Linked DNA regions of Homo sapiens: region 2 is linked to region 1. Evidence: promoter capture Hi-C in 16 types of primary human blood cells and fetal thymus (Javierre and others, 2016). All regions are on one chromosome and are shown on one strand. Each heading gives the region's core, a stretch centred on a gene start or on the middle of the fragment in contact. The rest is flanking DNA. Distances are from core to core; before and after follow the strand shown.

Region 1 (2,700 bases), core at 57-2,556:
GAGCGTGGCCCAGCTACCTGCACAGGACCCATCCCACCTCCTGAGCAGACTAGCCAAAGCGCCTTATAAACGCGCAACTGCAAAATCCAGGCCCTTCTCTTCCCACTCCCCACCCAGGCCAGTTTTCTCCAAATTCAAGATCCACTTTTCTCTGGCAGGCACAAAGCCACCGGAACCAAGCGGACCCACCCACTTGTCTAGGTTATCCCAACAGAACCTTCTCATTACCCCAATAGAACCTTACCCCAGTAGAATTACCCCCAATAGAACTTTTCTACTGAGCCAAGCTCCACCTTTCTGGGCCCCACTCCTTCCCAGGTAGGCCCGCCAATTCTGCCCATGGAGACTTCGGGATGCTAGTTACAGACCAAGACTCAGGCCTTAGGAACTCCTCCAGTCCCCATGCCCAGCTAAAAGACTCCAGCCACCTCAACTGATGCCCAACTGGATCCTACCTCTTCCCCCAGCCCAATTCACTACTTTCCATCGGATCCAAGCCTTCCTTCCTTGGGCCTAGGGGTCACTCGGGCTCGGGAGCTGAACTGGAGGGCTCACATGACTCAGGAGCCCTGGTGGTCACACCAGACCCTTCTCTTCCTTTTCAGGTGTCAATGGACGTGGACGTGTCCCCGGATTAAGCATGACCTTGGCCCTCCTGGGTGGACGTGGAGGCTTCAGAAAGATTCATTAAACTACTTTCCAAAGCTTAATTAGATGTTCACCGTCCTCTGTATCCTGTTTCCCATCTCTCTAAGCCCCCAAGGGCTCCTCGGAGCTCCCTGACCTTAATTCCTTAAATTCCGCCACCTCCAGGAAGCTCCTCGGCTTCCTGCTGCCAAGCCAGATTTTGTAGGAAAGGTGGGGCGGGAAAGGGAGCGTCCTTAGGTATCTGAGGCCGGTCCTCGGGTGCGGTGACCCCTTCCCGCTCTAGAACCCCCAGCCTGCGGGCACAGCCTTCTTTCCAGTTCCCGCTTTCCCTCCACGGCGTGGGTGAGCATCCGCGCGTGCGTCTGGGGAGAGCGGAGCCCCAGAGGCCCGTCCCGCCGAGGCCAGGTGGTCGGGGGTGGGGGCAGCTATTCCACATCCCCTGCAAGACGGTCCCAGCGTCCGTCCAGCAGACTCGCCCACCTTTAGATCTGGAGACGAGCCAAGTCGCTTTAAAGGGCAGAAGACGCCCTGAAGAGGGCATTTCCTAGGGATGGGCGGGGCCAGGCCCTGACGCACCGCCCCTGTCGCCTCCTCGCGGACACGCCCTCCGCTCGGCTGGCGCCGGTGCCTTTAAGACCTCAGCGCGCGGCCCTGATTGAGAAATCCGCGCGCAGCCTCCGCCGCTGCACACTGCAGCCTCTGCTGAACCCCTGCCGCGCCGCCGCCTTCGCCAGCCCGGACCGGACCGGCCCGCCTTCCCTTCCTCCGCTCCAGCCGGCCTCCGGCCCCGCAACCTCCTCCTCGGCGAAGTCTCCCTGGCCGCCCCATGTCGGCCGCCCCCGCCTACAGCGAAGACAAGGGCGGCTCCGCTGGCCCCGGGGAGCCCGAGTACGGCCACGACCCCGCGAGCGGCGGCATCTTCTCCTCCGACTACAAGCGGTGAGGGAGCCCGCCAGGAAGCTCGCGGGAGGGTTGGGGCCGGGGACCGGGCGAGGCGCGCGGGCACCATGGACAGCGCCCGGCCCCAGCGCCGGCCCCGCCCCGGCCGCGCCGACCGGAAGCCCGCCCGGCCCCCTCCTGCGGCCTGGAGCCCCGGCCCAGCGCGGGCAGCGCTGGCACCCCGGCTCCAGGGGCCGGCCTAGGACGCGGAGGGGGGCAGATAGGGGCTGGCGGGGGATGGGCCAGCTCAGTTTCGAGAGGAGAAACCCTCCGGTTCCAGGTGTTTCTCCGGTTTGCGGCGTTGCGTTAGGGGTTCCCTTCCTTTTTCGTGCTAGGCGGGTTGGCTTCCCAAAAATGTGGGGGAGGGGTCTGAGTCAGCGAACTTGAGCTTGAGCCTGGGGCCTCTTCAGGAAGGCGGGCCCTGGATGTACTTGCACAGCCTCCCAGCTTGGCCCTGCTGCAAATTCATTTCCCCTCCCTCTGGTCCCCATCTCCATCTGACCCTCACATCCCTGCTCCTGGCATTGCCCCTGTAGTTCAGCTCCACCTTCACACCCTCCCCCACCTTTGATTCGTTCGTTTGTTTCTTCATTTGTTTATTCGTAAATTCTGCAACAAGCATTTATGAAAAGCCAACTGTGTCGAGTCCTGAACTAGTCACGGAATACAACTGTGAACATGAGACCCTTCTTGTCCTCACGATGCTCTAGAGGGGAGCACAGATGAAGAAGCAGTCAGGGACAGTCGAGTGTAATGGGGGCAGTGGGAGCAGGGAGAGGACCTAGTCTCTGGCGCCGGAGAGAAGGAAGACAGGAGCGTGAGGTATGTTCCAGGCAGAGGAAAGGGCTTTCAGGAAGGTTGAGAGCCAGGCCACAATCTGTGTGAGCCACTGGACTGACCAGAAAAGAGGGTGGGGAGGACTCCTGAAGGATTCTAAGCAGGCGACATAATCAGATTTATATTTTAGAAGGACGTCAGGCTGCTGCATTGTGGAGAAGAGATTGGAGGTGGGCCAGATTGAACAAGAGACAAGGGAGGTGGGTCTTGAAGTTCACAGGCCTGGCATGATTGTGGCCTAGACCAGGGGAGAGGCAGAAGATTTGAGGCTGTGGA
Region 2 (2,700 bases), core at 131-2,630, 38 kb after region 1:
TTTTCTGCTACATAATAAATTACTATAAATTTGGTGGCTTCAAACAACACACGTTTATTTTCTCAGTGTCTATGGGTCGAGAATTCAGGTATGGCTTAGTTGGATCTTATGCAAGGCTACAACTGAGGTGTCAGCCAAGGCTGAGTTTTTATCTGGAGGCTGTACTGGGGAAAGGTCCACTTCCAAGTCACATGGTGCCACGATCCACTTCCTTGCAGTTGTAGGATTGTGGCCCTGGCTTCTTGCTGGCTGTCAGCTGGGGGCTGCCCTTGCCTTCTAGAGGCCGTCCTTAGCTCATTGCCATAGGGGCCTCCCAACACGGATGCTTAATTTCTCCAAAGCCACAAGGGAGAAAGTCTCTAGAGCCAGTCTGCTAGCAAGACCGTCTTCTTTTTATTTTTTAATTTTTATGGGTACATAGTAGGTGTATATATTTATGGGGTATGTGAGATATTTTGATACAGGCATATAATGCATAACAATCACATCAGGGAATGGGGTATCCATCCTCTCAAGCATTTATCTTTTGTGTTACAAACAATCAAATTACACTCTCTTAGTTATTTATAAATGTATAATAAATTATTGTTGACTGTAGTCACCCTGTTGTGCTGTCAAATACTAGATCTTACACATTCTATCTAACTATAATTTTGTACCCATTAACTATCCCCACTTCCCCCACCCACTACCCTTCTCAGCCTCTGGTAACCATTATTCTACTCTCCAACTCCATGAGCTCAATTCTTTTAATTTTTAGCCCTCACAAATAAGTGAGAACATGTGAAGTTTGTTTTTCTGTGCTTGGCTTATTTCACTTAAAATAATGACCTCTAGTTCTATCCATGTTGTTGCAAATGACAGGATCTCATTCTTTTTTATTCTTTTTTTATAGTACTGCATTGTGCATATGTACCGTATTTTCTTTATCTATTTGTCTGTTGATAGACACTTAAGTTGCTTTCAAATCTTGGCTATGGTGAACAGTGCTGCAATAAACGTAGGTGTGCAGATATAACTTCAATATGTTGATTTCCTTACTTTTGGGTATATACATAGCATTGGGATTGCTGGATCATATGGTAGCACTATTTTTAGTTTTTGTTTGTTTGTTTGAGATGGAGTCTTGCACTGTCACCCAGGCTGGAGTGCAATGGCATGATCTCAGCTCACTGCAACCTCCGCCTCCCAGGTTCAAACGATTCTCCTGCCTCAGCCTCCTGAGTAGCTGGGATTACAGGCGCCCGCCACCAAGTCTGGCTAATTTTCATATTTTTAGTAGAGATGGGGTTTCACCATGTTGGCCAGGCTGGTCTTGAACTCCTGGCCGCAAGTGATCTGCCCGACTCGGCCTCCCAAAGTGCTGGGATTACAGGCGTGAGCCACTGCACCTGGCCTATTTGTAGTGTTTTTTTTTGAGATGGTGTTTCACTCTTTTTTCCCAGGCTGGAGTGCAATGGCGTGATCTTGCCTCACTGCAACCTCTGCCTCCTGGGTGCAAGTGATTCTTCTTCTGCCTCAGCCTCCCAAGTAGCTGAGATTACAGGTGCCTGCCACCACGCCTAGCTAATTTTTTGTATTTTTAGTAGAGACAGGGTTTCACCATGTTGGCCAGGATGGTCTTGATCTCTTGACCTCGCGATCCACCCACCTCGGCCTCCCAAAGTGCTGGGATTACAGGTGTGAGCCACCGTGCCCGGCCTATGTTTAGTTTTTTAAGGAACCTCCAAACTGTTCTCCAGACATTTCCACTAACAGTGTACAAGGGTTGCCTTTTCTCCATGTTCTTGTCAGCATTTGTTATTGCCTATCTTTTGGATATAAGCCTACTTGGGGTGAGATGATATATCTTTTTTTGTTTTGTTTTGTTTTTTGAGACGGAGTCTTGCTCTGTCACCCAGGCTGGAGTGTGCAGTGGTGCGATCTTGGCTCACTGCAACCTCTGCCTCTGTGGTTCAAGTGATTCTCCTGCCTCAGCCTCCTGAGTAGCTGGGACTACAGGCGTGCGTCACCACGCCCCGTTAATTTCTGTACTTTTAGTAAAGATGGGGTTTCGCTGTGTTGGTCAGGCTGGTCTCAACTCCTGATCTCAGGTGATCCGCCTGCCTCAGCCTCCCAAAGTACTGGGATTACAGGCATGAGCCACCCGTGCCTGGCCTTTCATTGTAGTTTTGATTTGCATTTCTCTGATGCTCAATGATGTTGATCACCTTTTCATATACGTGTTTGCTATCTGTATGTCTTCTTTTGAGAAATGTCTATTCAGCTCTTTTGCCCATTTTTAAATTGGATTATTGAATTTTTTTTTCCTATTGAGTTATTTGATCTCCTTACGTATTCTGGTTATTAATCCCTTGTCAGATGGGTAGTTTGCAAATTTTTTCCTCCTATTCTGTGGCTTGTCTCTTTGTTGATTCCTTTGCTGTGCAGAACCTTTGTAACTTGATGTGATCCCATTTGTCTACTTTTGCTTTGGTTGCCCGTGCTTGTGGGGTATCACTCAAGAAATCTTTGCCCAGTACAATGTCCTGGAGAATTTCTCTAATGTTTTCTTTTATTAGTTTCATAGTTTGAAGTGTTAGATTTAAGTTTTTAATCCACTATGATTTGATTTTTGCATATGGTGAGAGATAGGGGTCTGGTTTTATTGTTCTGCATGTGGATATCCCGTTTTCCCAGCGCCATTTATTGAAGAGACTC

What was found. Contacts are between HindIII fragments. The CHiCAGO score rates a contact against its expected background, and 5 or more counts as called.
Region 2: a fragment that was not itself captured here is called in contact with the fragment with the promoter of AP3B2 in region 1 in 1 of 17 cell types (naive CD8 T cells); the score reaches 5.6 in naive CD8 T cells.

The regions. Positions count from the first base shown.
Region 1 is chr15:82,708,481-82,711,180 of GRCh38, reverse strand. AP3B2 (adaptor related protein complex 3 subunit beta 2) reads left to right here and starts at 1,306. Exons shown (of 27, transcript NM_001278512.2): 1 at 1,306-1,587. The coding sequence starts at 1,475. It also overlaps the pseudogene LOC338963. RefSeq lists silencers at 1,253-1,302, 1,523-1,782. The HindIII fragment of the contact is 2,125 bases long and covers 708-2,700 here.
Region 2 is chr15:82,670,459-82,673,158 of GRCh38, reverse strand. The region is part of intron 14 of AP3B2 (adaptor related protein complex 3 subunit beta 2); the gene reads left to right. All of the region lies in intron 3 of CPEB1-AS1 (CPEB1 antisense RNA 1), which reads right to left. Among named protein-coding and RNA genes, the nearest start is that of CPEB1-AS1, 24 kb to the right of the region's middle. The HindIII fragment of the contact is 8,602 bases long and covers 1-2,700 here.